Regions from separate parts of the Homo sapiens genome. Here regions 2, 3 and 4 are each linked to region 1. The links are contacts of gene promoters, found by promoter capture Hi-C in blood cells and fetal thymus (Javierre and others, 2016). All regions are on one chromosome and are shown on one strand. The core of a region is centred on a gene start or on the middle of the fragment in contact, and the rest is flanking DNA. Distances in the headings are between cores, read along the strand shown.

Region 1 (3,704 bases), core at 736-3,235:
TACAGACAGGGTTTCACCATGTTGGCCAGGCTGGTTGCGAACTCCTGACCTTGTGATCCGCTTGCCTCGGCCTCCCAAAGTGCTGGGATTCCAGGTGTGAGCCACCGTGCCCAGCCACATTTAAATCTTTAATCCATTTTGGGTTGATTTTTGTATATGATGAAAGACAGAGATCTATTTTTATTCTTCCGTATATGGATATCCAGTTTCTCAGCGCCATTTATTAAGAGACTGTCCTTTCCCCAGTGTAAGTTCTTGGCATCTGGTTTCTCTGGGTTCTCTACTCTGTTCCATTGGTCTGTTATAATAATTGATATTTTAGGTTCCCATTCACATAGATGTCAAAAATTTAATTGCGGCTAATTCAGGATTCACATTTTACCTTTAGGCTTGTGCCTAACCTTAATTAACAGTCCCAATGCATTGGGAAGGTCCCTTATGATCCCTGATGTCATCTATCCTCACAGGCATCCTCTAAAATATCAGTCCCTCTGTCTGGTCCTTATTTGTGATTCTGTGCAGCCTGCAATGGAGACATCCTTATTCCTATCCACATGGCTCTTCAGGCATGACAGCTTTTTCTGATACTTCTATGCTTCCCTTGGCCCCAGGAGTTATTCTCCTCTTCCCAAGATGTGCCTTCTTCTGTAGAGTCCCTTTGCTTCCTTGTAGCTCTAGCCAAGAAACAGGACCATTTGATTTTGGATCCTATAATATATCTAGGGGATCTCAGGGATCAAGTGAAGAACTGACTATAACTACAGTTTTCAGTTTTCCCATTTAATTCTCATCCTACCCTCATAGGGTGGGAAGTGCTGGCTTGTACTCAGGAAGCAACCTCTCAAACTCCTTGTCTATGCTACATGTCTCTTGATAGTCTTCCTATTAGCACAAAATGGGGTGAAGGCTAAGCTGGAGAGGGGAAGGGGAAACTAGAAAAAAATTAGGTTTTTTTTTTTTTTTTGAGATGGAGTGTCATTCTGTTGCCCAGGTTGGAGTGCAGTGGTGTGATCTCGGCTCACCGCAACCTCTGCCTCCCAGGTTCAAGTAATTCTCCTGCCTCAGCCTCTCAAGTAGCTGGGATTACAGACATGCACCACCACACCTGGCTAATTTTTGTATTTCTAGTAGAGATGGGGTTTCACTGTGTTGGCCAGGTTGGGCTTGAACTCCCGACCTCAGGTGGTCCACCCACCTTGACCTCCCAAACTGCTGGGATTACACATGTGAGCCACCATGGCCAAAAATTAGTATTCAAAAAATATTATCCTGCATCTTAAGTAAGTTGAATATGAAGCCATGGGAACTGAGAGAACAGGTTGTTTCTAAAGAGAAATTATCCCAAGAAAAGAAGGAAAAAGTGAGAAAGAATTAAGAGATGGATTGGGAACATTATTTTATTAGAAAATCAGTGACCATTCCTACTTTTATGACCCATGTCCCACCAGTGTTTGCTTGATGGGAATTTTTAGGGATGAGATACATTGCTATGTTACTACTCTATATGTGAATAACCGGTGTGCCTGATTTCTAGCACATTAATGGATTTTATAACTCAATAAATTATAGGCACTCAATAATTTTTATTAAATGAGTGAATGATAAAAAGCAGTGGACATAACTGGATATATTAAAGCAGCATGGGGCTATATGAGAGGAGGAGTTTCATAAGATCAAGATTAAAAATTAATTTGATATATATATTTTTTGCTTAAGTGGTGTTTACTAGTCTAAGGACCAGTACACATACATTAGAGAATGTATTCATTAAGAAGTCTCAGCCAGGCACTTAATTGTTGACACAGGAAAAAAAAAAAAAAGCCAACAAACCAACTCCGCAGAGCTGTGTTAAAAATACTGGACTTTCATCCCTTGATTGGAGGTATTATTACAGCATCAAGCTGACCTGCAATATGGATCATTGAGATCAAAGGCTATAAATTATAATGTTTGCCTTTAAAGAAGTCAATTCAACCCTGAATGTCATAGTTAGCTACTTTCAACTGGAAGCTACAACATGGATTTATGGAATCTGTCTTGGTTTCTGTTCTTGGATGCTCTTCTCGTGATTTCTGGCTTGGTAAGGAAACAGTATATAGAAGATAATTTAAAAATTTTGGGGCAGTTGATATTGATTGTTAAAGAACAAGTGTTTTTTTTTTGTTTGTTTTTTATACATCTTGAAATGTTGATCTCAAATGAGTGTTTCTTCTTGGAGATTAGGGGTGGGCAGTGTGTAGGGAGTGACAAATAGCCACACCAGAGTAGAGACATTGATATAAAGTTATGTTTTCCTTTCAGTTTCATCATTGTGTAACAAGTTTTCTTTTGATGAGATTATAAATGTGTATTTTGAAAATCATTCCATTTTTACTGCTGAATGAAATGCAGATTGCTGCACAGTAACTTGAGACATGAATGAGTGTCACAGGCACCGTCAGTACTTACAAAGTTTTATAACGTGGTATTTCTCTTATGCTTCTTCATCAGTTTAGACTCATCCTTCTACAGTTTGGACTAATCTTTTCTATCAGGTAGTTTGTATCACAAACCAACCCAAGGTTTTAAATGAAGTTTCAAATGGCTAGTGGAAAACCTTCAGTTGTTATTTTAAAATAACAATTATTATATTGGGGTGATATTCTATGAATAGGAACTAGAACATTGCAAACAAGAGATACAGATGAATACATGTTAAAGTGTAATTAGGAATAAATCCTTGATAATTTTATTCTGTAGGTGCACTGGCATTCCTCTATGAGTGTATGCCTGTGTGTGGTTATAGTGTGAAACATGCAAAGCACTTGTTAATGTCAAAAATGATGGTAACCATCCATCCAGTTCATTCCCACATTTTGTTAAACGCTCCAAATGATTCTAGTATTTAGATATGTAAGCTGTATTTGAATAAAATTGTACTTTACACTTTTGTGACAATTTATTATAGCTTACAATGAGCCTTCTTTCACATTATATACTGTAACCCTCACAATACCCATGCAAAGCAGGTACTGACCATATCTTATGGATAGTCTGAGTACCTGGAAGGTGAACTGAATTACCCTTAGTTAGTAGAACTGGTAACATAACCCAGACAGTCCTATGAGCTTTTTAATTCAATCACACTAAGACATTTCTCAGGTTTACTTAGTTGTTTTTTTTTTTTTTCCTTTGGACATGTAGTCTGAGTTTCATTGACCATTTGTGGAGAATCTATTTTCAGAAAAAAAATTAATCACAAAATGTACCCATTGTTTTTCTTAAATATTTGTATTGTCTTTGAAGGCAGAATTATTCTGGGAGAAACATGAATGCAAAATAACTTGATTAATGAGTCTTGAATAACATTTCTTTTTAAAGAATTGTTATAAATTACAGTATTATTTCAACATTGAGAATAAATTATTTGGTTTTTCAAACATTGCTCCATGAATGCTTTAGAAAATCGTGTGTAAAGTGAGCACTTATTTGAGAGCTAGAGTCTTATGTTCTGCCTTTTCCCCCCCAATTTTTGAAGTTGGTTTCTTGTTTCCTTCACCTTCAAATTGATTTAACAGGCAGTTTCATTTTCCATATGAAATGAGAAGACCCTTTGGTCAAAAAGTCATCTTAAACTTCAATTTAGCCATCCTAAATACATGTCAGGAAGTAATCCATAATATTAATGACAAAACAAACAAACAACAAATGGTTAGATATAAACT
Region 2 (3,704 bases), core at 423-2,922, 390 kb after region 1:
TGTCTTTATCAGCAGCGTGAGAACAGACTAATACACCACTCCTATTATGTTAGCTTCCTCCTCTCACATTTGGGAGCCTCTTTGTGCATTAGGGCTTGTGATCACCTGGGTACAGGTTGTTACTTTCAAGAGAAGTTCAGCGTTTTTTGTAGTTGAAAAATACATGAGGAAATGTTAAAGGAACCAGAGAAAAAATATGTAGTGCCCTGGAAAAACCTGATCAACTCACTGTGTGTCCTTAGCCAAGTCACCTAACCTCTTTGGGCTTCAGTTCCTTCATATTTTAAGTTGTGGAGGGTGGGATGAAAATGAGAGGGTAATTGCTTGAGATGATTTCTAATATCACTTCCAGCTGTAAAATGTGAGGTTTCTCTAAGATCAGGAGCAAATCTAATTTTTCTTTGACACAAAGGGCTCTTACACAAAAGATAATGAATGGCTTTAATATATCTTCCCTGAGGACAGAAAAGAAGAAATAGGGTGACAGTCTCCCTAGGTTTTGGCTGAAGATAAGGAAGACTTTCCAGACTGTGAGAATTATTTATTGGTGTGAATCAACAAGGGAGCATGGGATATTCGAGTAGGATAGATTTCTCTCTCTTTGGACAAAGTAGGATCCTGAACTGAAGCCTAAGTTTGCAGTGGAGGGAGGGTGAGTGCAGTGGGAGGATGTGGGGTGATGAGAGGGATGAAGAGATTAATGGCCTTTCTTTACTAGTCCCACAGTCTTAGGTGTGACTTGCCAACCTACAGCCCTGGCTTTCAAGCAGTTTGTGCTCCTTGGAGGGTCCACAAGCTTGGTGACTATCAGTGAGTCACCAACAGCTACCAGTGTGCTTTGCATTTTGACACAACAGGACTGTATGGAAGGTAGTAATTAGCACAGAGGACACAACAGGTCTAAGCATCACCATTCCAGTTAGTTTTTACTGTTGTGTTTGAAAAGATAGTAAAATTCTAGAGAAAAACAACAAAACAAAACAACGATTCTTCCTCCCCTAACCAACCCCAAGTTTCCAAATTAAGCAAGCAGTCAATCTAGTAGGGTGACACCACCAGAAGAAAACCCTGTGGACTGTGGAGACCCAGTGAAGCTGTGGCTGTGATCCTCAGCCTTGCAGGCTGTGCTGCCAGCCCTTTGTGAAAAGACCCTGGCCAGGCGCAGTGGCTCACGCCTGTAGTCCCAGCACTTTTGGGAGGCTGAGCAGGGCAGATCACAAGGTCAGGAGATAGAGACCATCCTGGCCAACATGGTGAAACCCCGTCTCTACAAAAAATGCAAAAATTAGCTGGGTGTGGTGGCAGGCGCCTGTAATACCAGCTACTTGGGAGGTTGAGGCAGGAGAATCGCTTGAACCTGGGAGGCAGAGGTTGCAATGAGCCGAGATCATGCCATTGCACTCCAGCCTGGGCGACAAGAGTGAAACTCCGTCTCAAAAAAAAAAAAAAAAAAAAAAGATAATAATAAAAATAAAAAAGGAAAAGACCCTTACTCCCTCATTAGGACGGCAGTTTTGTCAGTTACATTTCGACATATAGCCATTTTGCAAACGATGTTGCTCTTTTAATCTTTATTTTTCTATCAGCATTCCTCCTGTCTCCATGTTCAGTTTCTCTTAAACTCAGTCTCATTGTATCAGCTTTAGCTTTTGTTGCTGTTATTGTTTGTTGTATTTTTTTTCCATGATAGGACTTTTATAGAAAATACTTCATTACATCTCAAGACATTCTTATATTCACCTACTATGGTTTTACTATTTTATCTGCATTTGTTCTCAGCTAATCTTATTACAACTTGGAACCGCTGAGGCCCCACTAGGGGGCTGCAAGTGCAGTAGTCAGAGCCCGCTGTTGCTGCTCTCCCAGCAGAATTCTATCAAGTTAAGACAGACACACTCTTTAGAAAGGACTGCACAGCTGTGGCCGGATTGAACCACAGATCCCATTGTTTTGTCCAGATGCTGGAGCTGATTCTATCTTCAGAAAAAGAGGGCATTCAAAACAAAAACCAGGTTTGCTATTTTAAACGACATTGGATCCTTGGGAGCATTGTTTTCTTTTGGAAGCCGAGAGGAAATGTCAGGAAGAGACAGGATGTATATAGGTGGTGTGAGATGCTTCCGGAGAGTTGTTCAGAGCTTTTTGGATTGGCTTGTATGACTCTTTCCTGCCTCGATTCTCTGCCCTATTTCAATTCACCTGATCCACTGCTGACACATGGATCTTTCAAAAAACTCTGCAGTGATCATGTTATTCCCTATTTCGGGAATCATGAATGATTCCACATTATCTAGACCCAAACTCCCACTCTTTCAGAGTATTAAGGATGCCTTTTAAAGTTAAAAAAAGAGAAGCACCTTATGTCTGCCTTAGAATGGATTCACTACACTTTTAAGTGCGTTTGTATGGAAGTATTCACAACAGCATCTATGTACTTTAAATAAATAGTCCAGCTGGGAATAAGTGTTTATTTTGTCAGCTTATAATGCTTAGCTCACTTCTGAATTCCTGGACCCCTTGTACGAATCCCTTGGTCCCAGGGTTCTATGAAGCTTGGATCAGAAGTAGTACCCTGGAGGACTAGACTCTAAGCATTGCCAGGAAGTGCTCCTTGGTCAGCTTCCTCTGATTCCATTGACTTTCCCCAGGTAGATGTTTTCTAGGTATGTCCTCTCTCCTGTCTTTCTGGAGCCCCCTGGACTATTCTCTGGCCTTCTTCCTCCCTCTTTTCTGTATTTTCAATTGTTCCCTCTTAATTGACACATTCCTTGCAGACCCAGATATACTAAAATATCAACTCATTTAGAATATCCTTGCAATCCTAAATATCCTCCCACTTTCTAGTTAGCAGGTGCTCTGTTTTCTTCCCCTCACAACCATACTCCTCTACTGGATGGTAAAACTCAGTTGTTGAATCCCATCTACACTCAAGTCTCCCAGCTCCTGCCTCGTGTTAGGCACTGATCATTTTATACTATTATACTTTATATACCTTGTCTCCAGTTATATTGATACAAAGTTTCAATTGCTGGTTAAGTGATCTTTACAATAGATGTAACAGATAAGAACTGCGTTAATGACAGATGCTGGCAATAAAGGGTGTTAAACAAACAAAAAGCTTTAATGGTGATAAATTTTGTAGGAGTAAATAAAAAGAGCTCACTTGATTTGTGGCTCTCCTTTATCAGGTCTCTAGGGGTAGCCTTTTCTGCATGGGGCTGCTACAGCTTATTTTGATCTATGGTCTTTCTAAGCATTTCATTTTTGGCATTCCAAAGATGACCATCTTGGGAAGGCTGAAACTGACTGCTATGTACTAACTAGTTAAAAAGCAACCTTCTGAATGATTAAGCAATACAATACCACTTCATTTTGGTAAGAGGAAAAAAGTGGTTATAATTATTGTCCTTTAAAATACAAAGTCAACATTGTCATTATTCCTGGAACATAGTTGGCACTCACTGTATGTTTATAAATTGTGGAATGGTGATTGATCGACAGCGACTCTCTCAATTCCTACTTGTTTATTCATGCGTTGATTTGATTATTCAAGGAGTATTGAGTGCTCAATATGTGACAGATGTTGAATCAAACATTAAGCGGATAATAGTAAACATGCTAAACATAGTTGTGGTCCTCAGAGGCCAACATTCTGATGGTTGAAACAGATGACTGATAGGTAATTATCATGCAGTGAGGTGAGT
Region 3 (3,704 bases), core at 532-3,031, 370 kb after region 1:
TCATTCAGTTATTTGAAGTCCCTCTAAGTTGTATGCCAGAACAATATAGTAATTCATAATCAAAAGTATTTTTAATTATTTGGCAGCTGATGACCTCATAATGACCTCATATAATTTTGTAAAATGCAAGCATTGGAAACCCTCTGATTTTGCAAATCATTTAATTTCTCAATATCTAGGAAATGTATTAAAAAGACTTTAATACAACTTATTAGCTATTATTCCCATTAGTCTTTAACTTAGAGACCCTTGTTTATGGTGCTAAAATGACATAAAACTGGGGTAAAAATAACTCCATAAATTGGATGCTTTGTACTTTAGGAATGTACCCATTTTTTTTCTGAGCAGAGATCTATATATTAATGCCAAATTTCAATTAATCTAGGAAGTTATCTCAAAAGTCTTTAAAAGTCATGACACCTGAGAATTATTATATATAAATTCTAATATTAAGTTTTAATGGAAAATAAATTTTTACAATTATATATTTGACAGAATTAGAAGAGATTTGAATCCTCAAAAGAGAAACTAATTCTAATTCAATGAAGCTGGTTTTCTAGGATTTAATTTGTTATATACTAGAATATGATATGGAAACATTTTGTCTGACAACTGCATAAAGGAGGATATTCTGTTTTAAGACTATAGGTTTATATTTTTGTAAAAATTGACATAAAAACTATAGACCATTATTAATTATAGGGCTTATAAAAGATGTTTTAAGTTAAAAGATGCACTAAATTAAAAGATGGATTAAATATTGCTCTCAGTACATGACTTATGATAGACACCTATAACAATCCTTTTATTTTAATCTTAAACTCTAAAGTCTGGATTATATAAGCATGGAAGTAATTGACAAATGCAGACAAATGGGAGACTTGTGCCTGAATGAAAAACGAATATCTGTTTATAGCATCTAATAAATTTTTTTTTTGAGACAGAGTTTCACTCTTGTTGCCCAGGCTGGAGTGCAGTGGTGCTATCTCGCCTCACTGCAACCTCTGCCTCCCGGGTTCGAGCAATTCTCCTGCCTCAGCCTCCTGAGTAGCTGGGATTACAGGCACGTGCCACCACGCCCAGCTAATTTTTGTATTTTTGGTAGAGATGGGATCTTGCCATGTTGGCCAGGCTGGTCTCAAACTCCTGAGTTCAGGTGATCCACCTGCCTCAGCCTCCCAAAGTGCCAGAATTACAAGCATGAGCCACCGCGCCCAGCCTATAGCATCTAATAATGCTTTGGCAAAGGTTAATAAAATGTTTCTTCTACCTATGTGAATAATATTTAAAAAAACACGTTAACTTAGCTATTACCATATATTCTTTATACTCAAAGTTATACTGTCCTTCTACAGAAGTGATAACGGAAATTTTGACCCTTTCTTCTGAAATCATGCAAAATATGTAACGAAGACACCTTGGCCTGGGTTCCCCCAAACAGCAGAGCCTGAAACAAGGTGTTGCATGCAGATGGCTTATTTTGAGAAGTGATTCCCAAGGAATGGGAGTGGGAGATAGGAAGGGTTGAAAGAAAGAAGAAGGAAAAGCTAATCAAAGGGGAATGTTATTGAGTTGGGTCACCGCTGTGGGCAACTGCAGCTCAGTTCTCTTAGGGACCCTTTGAGGAACCGTGTCAGATATGCCTCAAAATTGCCCACCCGAGGGATGTATTAGAGGAGTATTTAGACTTTGGGTCTTGTTACTGTTGGTCAAGGGTCACCTCATGAGATATTAATTCTACCCCACTTCCAGGTTTATGCAAACATCAAATGTGGCATCCCACATGGCAGCAGCAGAAAGGCACTGGGGTAGAAGATGAGTGATAATGAGGTTACCCCGGAATGCAGTTGGTTGGCTGGCATGCAAAGGTGGGCCTAAAAGGTAGACAATAGGATGCAATAAGTATCTCATCTATAGATCTTCACGCTAAACCGTTATTACTGAAAACGGTGAAAATGCAGAAAGACTGGCTTTGCAGCAAATTGGTGTTTCTCAGCACACTCTGTTTTGTTTTTTACAAACATCTCCTATTGTGAGATACATAGAAAAGGCCTGGAATCTTGCTGGGTGTTGTCACCTGGATGGAATAAGAGTGACACTCTTTCCATTTCTACCCACATTTGTTGCTTTGCCTTCCCAGGCTCCTCTCTCAGAAGTGCTTCATTCTTTGACTATAATTAGGGGTGGAAAAGGTAAGGTTAAAAGAAATAGTCTTCACTTCTGCCTCCCCATTCTCCAGTAGAATGAACATGATGACTGAGGGAGGCTTCACCTATACCAGTGTTTGGAATGTCCCATTCTGTGTCATCCTGGAAGTTTTTACACCATAATTCAATTCACAGTGTGTGACAGGTGAGTCTTTTATTCCTGAAGTGGAAACCCTACAGTACGGAACAGCTGTGGAGGGGAAGGAATGAAAGAGAAACAGGCTAATCCTCCCCCAGGTTCTCAGGCAGGTCAGTTCTAGGAAGATGTACAAATAAAGTTGAAGATATGAAAATTGACTTTTAAAATAATTATCCATATCTCTGTACACCTCAGAAAGTCTTTGTCTTTTTCAGGGATCTTCTCACTTTGTTGGATATCTGAAATGTGTATATGTTTTTTTTGGAAGCAGAGTCTCACTCTGTTGCCCAGGCTGGAGTACAGTAGCACAATCATAGCTCACTGCAGCCTTGACCTTCTGGGCTCAAGTGATCCTCCTGCCTCAGCCTCCTGTGTAGCTGGGACTACAGGCATGTGCCATCATGCCCAGCTAATTTTTTAATTTTTGAGGGAGACAGAGTCTCACTATGTTACTCTGGCTGGTTGCGAACTCCTGGCCTCAAGTGAACTGCCTTGGCCTCTCAAAATGCTGGGATTACAGGCATGAACCACTGGCCCAGCCTGAGGTGTGTATTGTTATTGTTTGCTTTGATGTTGCTCCCTGCAACCCGAATCATGCCTTACTGCCAATTCCTAGAAGCATTTACTCCATTGCCAACAGTGAACTTTTATGGGAAATTGGGCTGGGGAGAAGTTCTAAAGTATGGGCCCGCCCTCCCGCCTGGCCTGCCTGCCTGCCTGCCTGCCTCCCTGCCTCCCTCCCTCCCTCCCTCCCTCCCTCCTTCCCTGCCTCCCTCCCTTCCTTCCTCCCTTCCTTCCTTCCTTCCTTCCTTCCTTCCTCCAGGTTTTGTTCTGTTGCCCAGGCTGGAGTGCAGTGGCGCAATCATGTCTCACTGTAGCCTCTACCTCCTAAGCTCAAGCAATACGCAGCTTCCTGAGTAGCTGGAACCACAGGTGTGTACCGCCTTGCCTGGTAAATTTTTTGTAGAGACAGGGTCTTGCTTTATTTTCCAGGTTGGTCTCAAACTCCTGGCCTCAAGTGATCCTCCTGCCTCAGCCTCCAAAGCATTATGATTATAGACATGAGCCACTGTGCCCAGCTGAGGTTATTTTCTATGTAAATCTCGATGTTCTGGAATTGGTGAGTGAATAAAAGCTGGTGTCCTTGTCTTCATGCTTAACAGTATGGCATTTGAATACTTGCACAGATGCTTTCTTGAAACTTGTTTCTTAAAAAATCACAGGAGGTTATTCACCAAAGTCAATGAAACTGAAATGTTCTATGTCAGCAGGAGAATATGACTAGAAGTGCTCTCATTATATCCATTGGAAGCATTTCCTCTGAACCTCAAAATATATTATTACATTTCGGATGACAT
Region 4 (3,704 bases), core at 388-2,887, 350 kb after region 1:
AGATGATGGTGCCTTGAACCAAACAAGTGGAAGTGAAGGATTAAATAAAATAATTGAACTAATAGAACTTGGTACACAAAGGCAATCAAGAAAAATTGGCTGAGTGCAGTGGCTCATGCCTGTAATCCCAGCACTTTGGGAGGCCAAATTGGGAAGACCACTTGAGTCCAGGAGTTTGAGACCAGCCTGGGCAGAAAAGTGAGACCTCATTTCTACCAACCCCACCCCCTCACCCCCACACACAAATTGTTTTAATTAGCTGGGCATGGTGATGCTAGCCTGTAGTCCTAGCTACCTGGAAGGCTGAGGCAGGAGGATTGCTTGAGCCCAGTAGTTGGAGGCTGCAGTAAGCTACGATCACACCATTGCACTCCAGCTTAGGTGACAGCAAGACCCTGTCTCTAAAAAAAAAAACAATAAATAAAATGAATGTTCTATCAATTGGTAAATGGCTTCAGTTAGACGATACTGGCACAGCTGTGCTGCATTTGTAATATAGGTTCACAACTGTATTCTTTTTCTCCCTCCTTTGACATTTCCCCCTGTTTGACTTGCTTTTCAGCATGCTTCCCCATCTTCTCTCACAGCATTTATCATAGTACACTGCATTTACAGGTTTGCTTGTCTCCTCCAATAATCTGTAAGCTCCTTAAATACGAACAATGTATTACGTCAGTAGTTCCTAAACTTAAGGTTGGTAGGAATCACCTAGGGATTTTGTTAAAATGCATATTCTGACTCATTAGATGTTGAGTGGGATCTGATTCCTTCCTAATAAGACCCAGGTGACGCCAGTGCTGTTAGTCTAACGGGATTACTATCGGTAGAAAAGTCTTTAACCAACTTTTTATTCCCAGTGCTTAGTAGAGTGTCTGGTACATAGCAGACTTTTTGACAAATGTCTGTTGAATAAATGGCCTATTCTACCTTGCCAAAGTCTTTGCTAATATTTCCTTTCATGTACCTAAATCCCAAGTTATGATTTTAACATCACCCTATATTTTTAGTTTTCCATGTCAATTTCTTAGCTCCTCAAGTTACTCTCTCCTGGACAGTTCACTTTCGTGTCATGCTGAAAACAATTTTGCAAATCCACCTCAACTACCACCATATTCTCCAAATACTTTCTCAAGTCTCCTCCTAGGAAATGATTTTTCTCTCCTTCTACTCAATTTTGCTTCTTCTTTTAAGAAGAGATAGAAAATGTGCCTGTTTTTCTATTTTTCTTAATGTTTTATGTTTACTTCCATTCAAATCTTGCTCGAAGTGCTACCCCTAACCCCAGAACCTCCATACTATACATACTTTAGGAGGAAGGGAATCTAAATCTTCACTTTTTCTAATTACTGTATATGTAATAGGACCCAGTAAGTATTCATGGAACCAATGAATCAATGAACATAGGTGAGTGAGTCAAGGCAAATTTTGTGAAAAGAGGAAGGACCTTGGCTTCCCTTCTTGACTTTTCATATTTGAAGTATTTCAGGGAGAACTTGTAGCTATCATACATATCTTCCAAAGTCTAAATAAGCCAGTAGGTTCCTGTGGAATTTAGATAGAGTGAGTGACAGGTTTTACCAATGATCTCCCAGCTTTTGGCCGGACACAATGGCTCATGCCTGTAATCCCAGCACTTTGGGAGGCCAAGGTGGTGGATCACCTGAGGTCAGGAGTTCGAGACCAGCCTGGCCCACGTGGTGAAACTCTGTCTGTACTAAAAATACAAAAATTAGCCAGGTGTGGTGGCGGGCACCTGTAATCCCAGCTACTCAGGAGGATGAGACAGGAGAATCACTTGAAGCTGGGACGTGGAGGTTGCAATGAGCCAATGTTGCGCCGTTGCACTCCAGCCTGGGTGACTACATCTCAAAAACAAAACAAAACAAAAAACAAAAAGAAAATGATCTCCCAGCTTTTTAAAATATTTAAGATGTGAAAATGGATCAAGGAATGTGAATGTGATAGTGTCACATCTCTGTTCTCCTTGTTCTCCTCCTACTCAGAAGATATAATCGCCCTGAATCATCTTGACACCTGTTTTGTGAAAATACTCCATGTACACATAAAAACCAGTGTTCCAGACAATCATTAAGTCTTTTATTCTGCAGTCATCTCACCAAAGATCAGGGAACTTTGGAGTCTGCTGAACAAAGTGACTCTGTTTCTTGGGATAAAGTGTCCCAGGATCCAGAAATAAGATAACTAGTAGGTAAATGCAAATTTAATTTTAGAACATAGCAACATACATCTTGTATGTAAATTGAGAGTGTCCTTTTAAGTTGACAAAGCATTCTAGCTACGCTTTTATTTACTTTATAAATAAGAGATTGGTCCAAATTTTAAAAGAAAAAGTCTGCCACTGGCTTATTTCATGACCGTGTTCATGAAAAATAGGCTATGAGTTTCCTATTTGAAACTTAGACATGTATAGTACTTGATATCTGAGTAAGGTGAGGTATTGTTTGCTTTAGTAGGTCAAACAGTATTTTCTTCTACTATTTTTACATTATTAATTTGCCTACTGTTTAAATAAATGGGAGGTACGTTTTCTCAAGGCTGGATATATCACCATTTCTGAATTAGTGGGATCTAACTTAATGGATTTTCCACATTCATCCATCATCTATCTTTTCCAGTTTGGTTTTCCATGCCCATATCAATAACCAGATAAACTAGGTGAGATTAGATCCTTATGCAAATAACATAATTTGTAAACACCCAAAATGACTCCTCTGCCTTTGTCTCCAGAGATAATATTCAAATAAAAATTACCATGGATACACAATTAGGTCACTTTATTTTTCTTTAAAGAAAAATATTTTCCTTGTCTTCATTAGGACAAGATTAGTTGAGTCATAAGCAATCAAGACTCTCCAATGTTTCGTAAAATACATCAAAACATTCAACTGATGAGAGTTCAAAGCATTGAGAAATACTGAAGAGGCAGGCATGCAGGCAGGAAGGAGGCTGGCTGGATGGTGTCGGGGTGCAGGTTTATTTGTGTTAAACCAAATGGGGCATTTTGGGCAGAGTTTCTTCTGAGAGAGTTATTTTAGGATTCCAGGTAGTCAATCTTTGTGACTCCCCATCTCTCCCAACTCACCACATTCCTCTCCCCATTTTCCTTAATCTTTATGAGGCACTATTTAGTAAATTATCATGATGAAGGTTGTGGCCATCCCTTGGCACATGTGTGGTGGTGGTTTGGTTTGCTTCCAGTGTTCTCCCCTGTACCACTCTCCCTGCCTCTCCGCCCGCCACTTCCTGCCTTCATTTCTCTCCTTGCAAGCAATCTCAGTCCTTCCAGCTTTTCCAGCTCTTTCCTACCCACTCTTCATCTCCCACTTCCTGGCTGTGTGATCTACTAGGGCCTCATGAGCTGGTAGAGCTTTTAGCAATCATAAAAGTGACAGGTGCTGTTGCATAGAAGACAGGGGACCTTATATGTTCCTTCCCCTCAGTATCACCACGGCCCCTCTACCATGTCACCTAAAGGAATTATTGTTCTTTCAAAGGGTTTAGGCATTTTCAAACACATCAACAAAATGCTGCTCTTACCTAAAAGGGAAAATTGCCATCTTAATTCTGATTAAATTTTAGGAATGTGTTTATCATAGAGAAAAACATCTATCTATTGGTTTTATCCCCCCATCTATCTATTGGTTGGTCTCTTCTTTATTCTTCTCATCCCTGACATCTCTGCT

Evidence for each region. Contacts are between HindIII fragments. The CHiCAGO score rates a contact against its expected background, and 5 or more counts as called.
Region 2: a contact is called between a fragment that was not itself captured here and the fragment with the promoter of MEP1B in region 1, in 2 of 17 cell types (total CD4 T cells and naive CD8 T cells). The highest score is 5.1, in total CD4 T cells.
Region 3: a contact is called between a fragment that was not itself captured here and the fragment with the promoter of MEP1B in region 1, in 4 of 17 cell types (activated CD4 T cells, non-activated CD4 T cells, naive CD8 T cells and 1 more). The highest score is 8.7, in activated CD4 T cells.
Region 4: a contact is called between a fragment that was not itself captured here and the fragment with the promoter of MEP1B in region 1, in 1 of 17 cell types (total CD4 T cells). The highest score is 5.1, in total CD4 T cells.

The regions. Positions count from the first base shown.
Region 1 is chr18:32,188,054-32,191,757 of GRCh38, forward strand. It overlaps MEP1B (meprin A subunit beta), which reads left to right and starts at 1,986. Exons shown (of 15, transcript NM_005925.3): 1 at 1,986-2,080. The coding sequence starts at 2,018. The HindIII fragment of the contact is 13,410 bases long and covers 1-3,704 here.
Region 2 is chr18:32,574,663-32,578,366 of GRCh38, forward strand. No RefSeq gene overlaps it. Among named protein-coding and RNA genes, the nearest start is that of GAREM1, 110 kb to the left of the region's middle. The HindIII fragment of the contact is 1,756 bases long and covers 795-2,550 here.
Region 3 is chr18:32,558,074-32,561,777 of GRCh38, forward strand. No RefSeq gene overlaps it. Among named protein-coding and RNA genes, the nearest start is that of GAREM1, 89 kb to the left of the region's middle. The HindIII fragment of the contact is 4,086 bases long and covers 1-3,704 here.
Region 4 is chr18:32,537,763-32,541,466 of GRCh38, forward strand. No RefSeq gene overlaps it. Among named protein-coding and RNA genes, the nearest start is that of GAREM1, 69 kb to the left of the region's middle. The HindIII fragment of the contact is 4,340 bases long and covers 1-3,704 here.